Linked DNA regions of Homo sapiens: regions 2 and 3 are each linked to region 1. The links are contacts of gene promoters, found by promoter capture Hi-C in blood cells and fetal thymus (Javierre and others, 2016). All regions are on one chromosome and are shown on one strand. The core of a region is centred on a gene start or on the middle of the fragment in contact, and the rest is flanking DNA. Distances in the headings are between cores, read along the strand shown. Region 1 holds the start of IDH3B (isocitrate dehydrogenase (NAD(+)) 3 non-catalytic subunit beta). Region 2 overlaps SNRPB (small nuclear ribonucleoprotein polypeptides B and B1). Region 3 has its middle 2.3 kb from the start of ZNF343.

Region 1 (3,607 bases), core at 785-3,284:
GCCTGTAATCCCAGCACTTTGGGAGGCTGAGGGTGGCAGATCACCTGAGGTCAGGAGCTCAAGACCAGCCTGGCCAACATGGTGAAACCCTGTCTCTAATAAAAATACAAAAATTAGCCGGGTGTGGTGGCGCGTGCCTGTAATCCCAGCTACCAGGGAGGCGGAGGCAGGAAAATCGCTTGAACCCGGGAGGCAGAGGTTATAAATCTTCCATTTTTTTCTTAGTCAGAAGGAGAAATATTTGGAGAAGAAAAATAGTGACGAATATTAATAGTGATGTGGAAGCTGGGACGAGGGAGTCTATGGGAGCAAGACGGTGGTGCTCTCTGGTTTTGGTTGGTTTCATGGGATATATGAATGGAAATAGAGGAGTGTGTTATACTAATATTATATTAGCTATAATAACAGCTCTATATTTACCCAGTACTTTTCATTTGTTCAAAACTCTTACACATTACCTAGTTTAATCTTCTCATCCTACTACTATATAGGAGAATGTCGCACCTAAAGGATTGCAGAGGAGGCACAAAGCCTATGCATATTCCCCAAGAATAGAAGCACTGGGAATGCCTTTGCGTTGCCACCTTTTTGGCTGGTTGAGGTATATACGAAGGAGGAACTTATCACAGAGAACCTAGCTAGTGGTTCTTAAATTTCAGTGTGTATTAACGGGGAGCCTGTTAGAGATATATTTTCTGGGCCCCCATCACTGAGATTTGGATTCAGCAAATGAAGTATGACTCACAAGCCTGCACTTTTAACAAGAGCTCTGGTCCATCTGGATAGGTGATCCAAAACCATACTTCCAGAAGAGCGGGTGAGGCAAATCTTCCTGTACCAGTTTGTCTTTAGGTGTGTCAATTGTACACACCTAAAATCGTGACTGGAGGCCGGGCTTGGTGGCTCACGCCTGTAATCCCAGCACTTTGGGAGGCCGAGGCGGGCGGATCACGACGTCAGGAGATCGAGACCACGGTGAAACCCCGTCTCCACTAAAAATACAAAAAAAAAAAAAAAAAAAAAAAAAAATTAGCCAGGTGTGATGGCGGGCGCTACTCGGGAGGCTGAGGCAGGAGAATGGGGTGAACCCAGGAGGCGGAGCTTGCAGTGAGCCGAGATCGCACCACCGCACTCCAGCCTGGGCGACAGAGCGAGACTCTGTCTCAAAAAAAAAAAAAAAAAAATCGTGACTGTAATTGTTTTGAGACGGGTCTCGCCCCGTCTCCCAGGCTGGAGTGCAGTGGTGCCATCACGGCTCACTACGGCTTCCACCTCCCGGGCTTAAGTGATCCTCCCACCTCAGCCTCCTAAGTAGCTGGGACTACAGGTGTGTCACCACGCCTGGCTAATTTTTAAATTTTTTGTAGAGTCGAGGTCTCCCTATGTTGTCCAGGCTTTTTTTAGTTTTTATGATTGTTACTTTAAGGATCAGTCTGAAATTCCCTTTAGTCACACTTACACGCTTGAACTCATTTCTGACACTAGTTATGGGCCTGTCCTGGGGAGTTCAAGTCCGGGACACACTATTAGGGAAATAACTGTCAGAGCAAAGAACAAAACCCTGTAAGAAAAAACTACGAGGCGACGGGTAATACAGAGGTCCTGGGCACTCTCGGAGACTGGCGGAGAAACCCGACACACACCTCCCATGTCTGTACTGTATTCCTCGAGAGCCTGACATACAGGTATTCAGTGAGTACTGGTTAAAAGAATAACAAACGCATTGACACACAAATTTTAACAGCTTCCCAAGGATTTTCTCTCAATCGCTTGTTAAGCTCAGGTCCTCGTCTGATAAACATGACGCTACATTTTTCCCCCTAATGTTATTTTGAAGTTTCGACGTAGATTAAATATGGCGACTGAAAACAAAGCAAGAGACAAAGTGCTTGCGCATCCCATGACCTCCCCACCGGCAAGGAAAAGGAGAAACAGGCGTGAGCAAGCAGTGCTGGTTGGCGCAGAGAGAGAAATACCAGGAACTCAGTACAGGCCGGAAGTCGGGGTACGGGGCCGCGCCAGCTTCAGGCGTCACTTCCCACGCGACTTCCTGCGGGAAACATGGCGGCATTGAGCGGAGTCCGCTGGCTGACCCGAGTGAGGCCCCGGGACATGTCGGGCAGGGGCGGGCGAAGGAGCGGAGAGTTTGTCCTAGGGTTTCCTAAACAGGGCAAAGTCAACTGTAGTGTTCGGGGTCTGGATGTCTCAAAGCTGACCTTACAGGCTTGTGTGTCCCTGTTGCAGGCGCTGGTCTCCGCCGGGAACCCTGGGGCATGGAGAGGTCTGAGTACCTCGGCCGCGGCGCACGCTGCATCGCGGAGCCAGGTATGCACGAATCTGGCTGGGGTCTCTCTTACGACCCTGTCCCTTCCTCGCTGCTCCCTCCCCTGGCTTTTCCCCACCCCTCCCGGGTCTCCCTACTTCTCTACTCCCAGGATCCGTGCTCCCGCCCCAGCTCTATCTTTACTTCTCCCCTCTTCCCCCAATTGAGGCCGAGGACGTGAGGGTGGAGGGCTCCTTTCCCGTGACCATGCTTCCGGGAGACGGTGTGGGGCCTGAGCTGATGCACGCCGTCAAGGAGGTGTTCAAGGTGAGTGGCCTCGGGGATCAGACAGTAGAGGACAGTAGTGTGTTGGAAAGGACTTGGCCTTGACTGTGATGTTTTGGGAACCTGTCTCTGAAGGCTGCCGCTGTCCCAGTGGAGTTCCAGGAGCACCACCTGAGTGAGGTGCAGAATATGGCATCTGAGGAGAAGCTGGAGCAGGTGCTGAGTTCCATGAAGGAGAACAAAGTGGCCATCATTGGTATGTGTGCCCTCTTGCCACTTGTCCATGTGCCATTTAAAATCAAATGACCAAATGTTTATTAAGCCCTTCTCCCCACATGCTATGCAATTATATTAACTCCAGGGCAACCACCATTGGTATTTGGACATTTGTTCCTTCCCATTGGGAGCCCAGGAGTTGAGAGATCATGTCAGCTGTCTATGCAGAAAAGTTCCAGGGGTTCTGAGTCTGTCCTGAGGCTACATCAACTGTCATCAAATCTTATTCATTGCATTTCTGGAATACCACTTTTAGCTGCCCCTTTTCTTTTTTTTTTTTTCCCCTCCCTTCCTTCCTCTTTGTTTCTTCTTGCTCTGTCGCCCAGGCTGGAGTGCAGTGGCGCGATCTCGGCTCACTGCAACCTCCCCGTCCCTGGTTCAAGCAATTCTCCTGCCTCAGCCTCCTGAGTAGCTGCGACTACAGGTGTGCACCACCACACCCAGCTAATTTTTGTGTTTGTTTTGTTTTAAGACAGAGTCTCGCTCTGTCGCCCAGGCTGGAGTGCAATGTTGCCATCTCAGCTCACTGCAACCTCTGCCTCCCGGGTTCAAGTGATTCTCCTGCCTCAGCCTCCTGAGTAGCTGGCTGGTATTACAGGAGCGTGCCACCATGCCTGGCTAATTTTTGTATTTTTAGTAGAGATGGGGTTTCACCATGTTGGTCAGGCTGGTCTCGAACTCCTGACCTTGTGATCTGCCCGCCTTGGCCTCCCACAGTGCTGGGATTACAAGTGTGAGCCACCATGCCCAGGCTAATTTTTGTATTTTTAGTAGAGAGAGGGT
Region 2 (3,607 bases), core at 664-3,163, 200 kb after region 1:
TTTGTATTTTTAGTAGAGACGGGGTTTCACCATGTTGGCCAGACTGGTCTCGAACTCCTGACCTCAGTTAATCCACCCACCTTGGCCTCCCAAAGTGCTGGGATTACAGCCGTGAGCCACCACACCCTGCCCACTGAAGGATTTTAACCAGCAAAATGACATAAGCTTAGTGGTGTTTAGAAAGATTGCTCTAGCTCTGGCATGTATATTCGATGGGACTGGAAGCAGGGAAACCTGGTAGGATATTGTTTGGATAACTGGTTAGAATAGGCGCTGGATTCATTTTGTCTAGGTTCCAACACAGCTTCCCAGCTGTGAAACTGGGCAAGTTACTTAACCTCTCCTAGCCTCAGTGACCTCATCTGTAAAATAGGGATAATAATGGGCCCAATTTTGGGGATTAAATGAGATGTACTGTGCTTATCACAGTGCCAGATACACAGTGAGCACCCAGTAAACATTAGTTGAGCTGGACCAGTGAATGTTGCCCTAAAGGTTCAGATCCCTTGTGGTTAGAAGCTGGTTAAAATGGTCATTGAATGGAAACTGAACCACCTAACCTGAGGGAGGCTCGCAGTATCTTTGTGTGGAGTCAAGTTTTGTTTTTGTTTTTTTGAGATGGAGTCTTTCCCTGTCACCCAGGCTGGAGTGCAGTGGCATGATCTCAGTTCACTGCAGCCTCCACCTCCCAGGTTCAAGCGATTCTCCCATCTCAGTCTCCCGAGTAGCTGGGATTACAGGCACCTGCCACCACGTGTGGCTAATTTTTGTAATTTTAGTAGAGACGGGGCTTCGCCATGTTAGCCAGGCTGGTCTTGAACTCCTGACCTAAGGTGTTCTGCCCACCTCGGCCTCCCAAAATGCCGGGATTGCAGGAGTGAGCCACTGAGCCCGGCCATGGAGTCAAGGTTTTGATCTGCATATTTGCAGGTTCAGAACTTTGTTGTCTGAGCTCACAGAGATGAACAGATGTCCATAGAAGGCACTTGGTGGGTTAGGACTTGGGTATAGCAGTCAGACTGATGGGAGGATGATATACAGATCAAATGCCAGGTGATTTGTTTATAGAGAGAAATACAACTGCTTAGGGTACCTGACAGTTCACAAAGTGATACCTATATAGTCACTTCTTTATTTTAGCACATTGGAACCCAGGTTATGAAAGCAGAAATGTTTGTTGGGTTAAAGACCATTATATGTCCAAACTGGTTAGCACCCTAACCATCAGAAGTTTCCCTCTGCCAAATATAGTCTTGGAGGCACACTAACAAATTCTTGATATGTGGATTTCATTTTTCACCTTGAAGCTGATCTCCTTCCTGATAACAAGCTTCTTGTTGATTAGATTTTTAGTTTCAGCCCTATTCTAGCTCTTCCTTTACTCAGTGTTTTTAATGAGATTTGAATGTTCCATAGCACTTGAGTCACATATCTATAATCTGCACACTGGTAGATGGCTCTAGTATGTATGCATTGGATTATTTTGGGGACACCCTATACTCTCATCCCTGCAACTGACACGACAAGGAGAAAGGCAATTATAATATGAGAAAGACCGATTTCAAGGGAAGAGAGAATAGCAGATTACTGGGTAGAGGTCAGGGCTAAAACAGGGTGGCATGGGAGAATTCCTAGGAAAAGGCTGTGGGTGGGAGACTGAGCTAAGAATCTGTTGAGAAAGTTGGACACATGGACAAGAACGCCATGGGAAGTTTTGGGGAGGGCCAGAGGTGCTTGGGTCCAAAAGAGCAGAGTCTCATCCCTGTCCATTTCTCCTTGCAGACGGTGGGCAAGAGCAGCAAGATGCTGCAGCATATTGATTACAGGATGAGGTGCATCCTGCAGGACGGCCGGATCTTCATTGGCACCTTCAAGGCTTTTGACAAGCACATGAATTTGATCCTCTGTGACTGTGATGAGTTCAGAAAGATCAAGTGAGGAGTGGACTGTGGGGGGCGGAGACTGGAGGATGGGAATGGATTGAGTGGGTGGGCCAAGCAATAGAGGTGGTGATGTAGCTAGTTGGTTCTTCTCTGTTTATTCTCCAGTTTTAGAGGGCAGACTTAAATGGGGACATTGAACGCTAAGAAATCTTTTTGAGTCCAGCAAACCTTGCTCTCTAGTCTAGCAAAGTACAAGTTGTGAAGGGCTGCTAGGCTTTTTGTTTCTCTCACTTTGCGTGCCCCTGGGTACTGGGGTAAAGGGCTCTCATGTTCTCCCCACAGGTGTGTGAGGGGGGAGAGCTTGAGTTTCTGGCCTCATTGCCTATTTGTAAAGCTGTAGCCTAAAGGGCTCTCCCAATGCAGCCTGGTCTGAAACTGCTTTAAGAAGCCTCTGACCCTCTTCAGGGTAAGTGCTCAGCTCCCCATGTGGGTTTGGGGCCAGTGATTTTTGTTGGCATTTATACAAACAATTGGAGATATTGTCTACTTTGCTACAATTCCGTAAGTTATTGGCTAACTCCCTTGCCTTGAGTCTCACAGATCTTAAGCTTTTGGCCCATTAAAAGATATGATTTAGCTTCCCATCATGTTTTACATTCAAGGCTACTTGAGGCACAAAAAGATGATGTGACTTCCGTGGCCAGCAGCTCTTTTGTCATATGCAGTGTCCATATTATTCTGTCACTCACTTTGAATTCCCTTTGATTCTCCTTGGGGCTGATTTCTTCTGTGACCCAAGGTCAAGAAGTATAGTTTAAAAATGTGGTAGGGATGCCTTGGTGCCAGGTACGTATTAGAGAGGGGCCAACAGATGAGCGTGGAGCTACTCCAAAGTTCCCTCCTGATTATAAAAAATGTTTATTGGAAAATATTTTTGAAAATACAAAGAAGTCTATGAATAGAAACTAAAATACCCCGAAGGGTTTTTTTCTAATTATGAAAGGACAATACATGGTTATTATTTTAAAAAATAAGAAAATGTGAGCCAAAAAAGGGAAAAACTGTCCATCCACAGACAACCAGTTAATATACTGTAAAATATCAAAACAAAATCTTTTGAGTTCTTTTTTTAAATCAGGCTATTTTTTCCCCTTTATTTTTAGGATCTAGCTTTAGCTTTTTTCCCCACTTTCCTATCCTGTTGCAGTTATTTTTCCTACTTCACATTTATATTTTGTTCATCTTTTTCTGGTTGTTGCTTTTTGGGGGTTTCTGTTTTTATGCTTTTGAGGAACAGATATGAAATTTCAATTTCTGTGTATGTGAAATTTCTCTTAACCTTTTCCTTCTATGGCTTCTCCTATTTCTGATGTAAGATGAGGGGCAGAATTATAGGCCTGTGAGGTTGAATTGATATTAGAAGGACACTGCACGTAAGTGAGGTGGGTGGGAGTCATTTGATTGGAATTGTTTAGGCAGCCTCCTGATGTTGGCAAGACCTTAAGCTGAAGGGAGGGAATAGGGTCCTAAGAAAGAAGACTTGGCTGAGGGAAGGGCCTTCACGGTTGCTGTGGAATAGCATTTGGGCCCGGGCTGGGCTTTGTTGACCTTGTCCTATCTCTTGGTCAGTGTGTCCTCTTGGCATGGTAGGAAACAGGTAGATAGCCACCTAAGAGGTTATGTGTTCAGCCTGTAGAGACTATCCAGGAGGGCTATCTTGGGAA
Region 3 (3,607 bases), core at 825-3,324, 150 kb after region 1:
CTGCAGCTTGGAACTCCCAGGCTCAAGCTATCCTCCCAGCTCAGCCTCCCAAGTAGCTGGGACTACAGATGCCTGCCACCACACCCAGCTATTTTTGAGGGGATTTTTTTTTTTTTTTTTTTTGGTAGAGAAATGGTCTATGTTGCCTAGTCTGGTCTTGACCTCCTGAGCTCAAATGATCCTCCTGCCTTGGCCTCCCAAAGTGCTGGGATTACAGGGGTGAGCCACTGCGACTGGCCCAATTTATTTTTCCATTTGTTGCTTCTGCTTTTGGTGTCACATCTAAGAAACAATTTTTCAGATGCAAGGTAATGAAAATTAACCCTTATGCTTTCTTCTAAGAGTTTTAGCTTTTATATTTAGATCTTTATAGTCTTTGAGTTAATTTTTGTATACAGTGGGAGGTAGAGGTCCAACTTCATTCTTTTACTTGTGGTTATCCAGTTGTTCCAGCATGATTTATTGAAAAGGCTATTCTTTCCCCATTAAATGGTCTCGGCATCCTTGTTGAAAAGCAATTGACCATTTCTCTACAGTTTCATTTCTGGACTTTCAATCCTATCCATTGGTCTATGTCTACCCTTATGGCAGTACCACACTGTTTTAATTACTGAAGCTTTGTATTAAGTTTTAAAATTAAGAAGAGTGAGTCCTCCAACCTTATTCTTTTTCAAAATTGTTTTGGCTACTCTGGGTCCCTTAAAATTCCATACGAACTTTAGGATCAACTTTTCCATTTCTGCAAAAAGGCCATTGGAATTTTGACAAGGATAGCATTGCATCTGTAGATTGCTTTGAGGAATAATGCCATTTTAACAATATTAAGCCTTCCAACCCATGAACGGAGTATGTAATTTCATTTATTTGGAGCTTACACAATTTCTTTCAGCAATGATTTGTAATTTTCAGTGTACAAATCTTGTGCCTTCCTGGTTAAAGTTATTCCTAAATATGTTATTCTTTTTGATGCTATTGCAAATGGAACTATTTTCTTATTTTCAAATCGTTTGTTAGTTATAGAAATGTAGTGTTTACTATATACAAGATCACATCATCTGTGAATAGAGATAGTTTTACTTCTTCCTTTCCCATTTGGATGGCTTTTCTTTTTCTTGTCTAATTGCTATAAATAGACCTTCCAGTACAATGTTGAATAGAAGTGGCAAAAGTAAGCATCCTTGTCTTGTCACTGACCTTAGGGGAAGAGTTTTCAGTTTTCACCATTGAGTATGATGTTAGCTGTGGGTCTGTCATAATTGCATCCCATGCTGTGAATGTAGGCTTTGAGACTGCTGAAGAGCCAGGGAGGAAAGCAGGGCGAGGGGCAAGTAAAACATTGCAAAATTTTCCTAATTTTCTCTTTTATGAATAGACTTCATTTTTAGATGAATTTTATGTCCATAGCAAAATTAAACAGAAGGGACAGAGATTTCCCATTGATGTCACCTCTGTCCTTGTATTTTTAATTCAACTGTTCCATAGATTTTATTCACGTGATGAATAACAGTCACATGGAGCACAGAGGGATGCTGAGGGAGGGCTCCAGATCAAGGGCTGGATTTGAAACTGTCCCAATTGTCCCACAGAATTGATGTTTATGGTTTCTTTGAATAAACAGAAATTGGTCCTTCCAGGCCAGGTGCGGTGGCTCATGCCTGTAATTCCAGCACTTTGGGAAGCTGAGGTGGGAGAATCACCTGAGCCTAGGAGTTTAAGATCAGCCTGGGCAACATGGTGAAACCCCATCTCTACAAAAAATTAAAAAATATTGCCAGGTGTGGTGGCATGTGCCTGTAGTCCCAACTACTCGGGGCTGAGGTGGAAGACTCACTTGAGCCCAGGAGGTTGAGGCTACATGAGCGGTGATCATGCCACCGCACTCTAGCCTGAATGACAGAGCAAGTCCCTGTCCAAAAAAAAAAAAAGAAAGGAAAAGGAAAGAAAAGAAATGGATTCCCCCAGTCTTAAAACTTGAGAAGGTCACATTTGTCCTGAGTTCCTTTCTCAGGAAAACCAAACATCAGGCCTCCCAGATAGTATCAAGGAGCTGCAACTTACCAAATCATTGCATGTGGACAATGAGAACCCACACTCCTCATCAGTCATATTGCCTAACCAATCACCTCCTTCCTGTTCCAACTTACCTCTCCCTAATTTCTGTTTTCCCACACATAGTTACATTTCTTCCCTGCTATACAAACCCCTGATTTTGGTCAGTCAGGGAGATGGATGTGAGACTGATCTCCCATCTTCTTGGCTGCAGCACTCAATTAAGGCCTTCTTCCCTTGCAATACTCGTCTCAGTGATTGGTTTTCTGACTGGCAACCAGCAGGACCTAGACCCAACCCCTGGTGTTTCAGTAACAGATTCTGCCCAGTACTAACACGGCAGCCTCCAAGACAAGAGAAGGGAATTGGTCCTTTCTGTGAAAGGCAGGACAGAATATCAAGAAATGTTTGTCTGTCTCCTGGCTCACAACGGCCTTGGGGCCATGTTCTCTATCTCCTGAGTACTGGAGAACAGAGAAGCCTCAGAAGGCTGATATTGGGAAGGTGAAAAGAAATAAGAAGATGGAAGGAGGTGTTGGAGAAAATAAAAACAAAATCTCCTGCTAACCCAGAAAATCCCCTTCACAAACGTAGAAAAGAAGGAGAACAGTTTTATTACCAAATAATATTGAACTGGACTGGGAAGCACATTGTAGACAATCTGCTAATCAGATGCCAGACAGAAAGAGATCTTACTTTTTATCTAGTTGGGCAGATACAATCTATTACAAACATGTCCTCAAAATTAATGGTAATTTGCCCCCTTGTAAGAGGATTTGACATTGTTTGCTATACAATTTTTCATAATTCATTCTAAATTCACCTGGTAATTGGAGTAGCCATCTACACTAGTTAATTGCCTTTATCAAAAAGAAAAAATAAAACTTTTATCTGTGACAAGCGGGCAGTTACGAGTTTGGAGCTAGGCACCTAAGCTAAACTCCCAAGGTGACAGGGAGATAAGGGCACTATCTTCTTCACTGTTTACATTTCAAAGAGATGGCTCATCAGGCCTTTGGGGGAAACATTCCTCTTTTGTAAAGTTGGCAGGTGCTTATTCAGCCTTTCAAAAGTATCAGGTACATATCAAAGGAGCACTTATACATAGATTTCTCATGGAAATACTCCAAGGGCGTGAGGTCAGGTTTATTTCCCCTTCAGTAACAAGTAAAATTTAATTCAATTTGTATTTGCCATTAAGATTTAAACGCGCCTCCTATGAGCTGAAGGTCTGATCTGCAAACCCCTAATTGCCGTGTTGCAGAAGGTACCAGCGTAGCCCAGTTTTAAAAATATTATTAGTTTTAAAATATATACATTTAACTCCTGGGCTCAAGCCATCCTCCAGCCTCAGCCTCAGCCTCCCTCGGGGTTACAGGAATCCCAGGCGCGCGCCACCACGCCCGGCTCTAGTAGCCCAGATCTGAACCGGGATCTTAGATAAGAGGCCAGAGAGCCAGACTCCAGCCTGAGTGAAGCTTCCACCCTCCAGAAACTGGATGAGAGTCTGTCCCTAACTTTGAGGACTTCGACAAGAAAGGTGACTACAGGCCACCCA

What was found. Contacts are between HindIII fragments. The CHiCAGO score rates a contact against its expected background, and 5 or more counts as called.
Region 2: a fragment that was not itself captured here is called in contact with the fragment with the promoter of IDH3B in region 1 in 1 of 17 cell types (erythroblasts); the score reaches 5.5 in erythroblasts.
Region 3: a fragment that was not itself captured here is called in contact with the fragment with the promoter of IDH3B in region 1 in 2 of 17 cell types (total CD8 T cells and naive CD4 T cells); the score reaches 5.5 in total CD8 T cells.

What each region holds. Positions count from the first base shown.
Region 1 is chr20:2,662,643-2,666,249 of GRCh38, reverse strand. IDH3B (isocitrate dehydrogenase (NAD(+)) 3 non-catalytic subunit beta) reads left to right here and starts at 2,034. Exons shown (of 12, transcript NM_006899.5): 1 at 2,034-2,097; 2 at 2,245-2,325; 3 at 2,492-2,590; 4 at 2,684-2,804. The coding sequence starts at 2,062. IDH3B-DT (IDH3B divergent transcript) reads right to left here and starts at 1,976. Exons shown (of 3, transcript NR_186432.1): 1 at 1,644-1,976; 2 at 746-992. RefSeq lists enhancers at 611-1,396, 2,970-3,607. The HindIII fragment of the contact is 11,157 bases long and covers 1-3,607 here.
Region 2 is chr20:2,465,934-2,469,540 of GRCh38, reverse strand. It overlaps SNRPB (small nuclear ribonucleoprotein polypeptides B and B1), which reads left to right. Exons shown (of 7, transcript NM_003091.4): 2 at 1,783-1,934. Among named protein-coding and RNA genes, the nearest start is that of SNRPB, 3.1 kb to the left of the region's middle. The HindIII fragment of the contact is 1,161 bases long and covers 1,333-2,493 here.
Region 3 is chr20:2,509,436-2,513,042 of GRCh38, reverse strand. It overlaps a transcript of ZNF343 not described here. Among named protein-coding and RNA genes, the nearest start is that of ZNF343, 2.3 kb to the right of the region's middle. RefSeq lists an enhancer at 2,707-3,302. The HindIII fragment of the contact is 2,911 bases long and covers 619-3,529 here.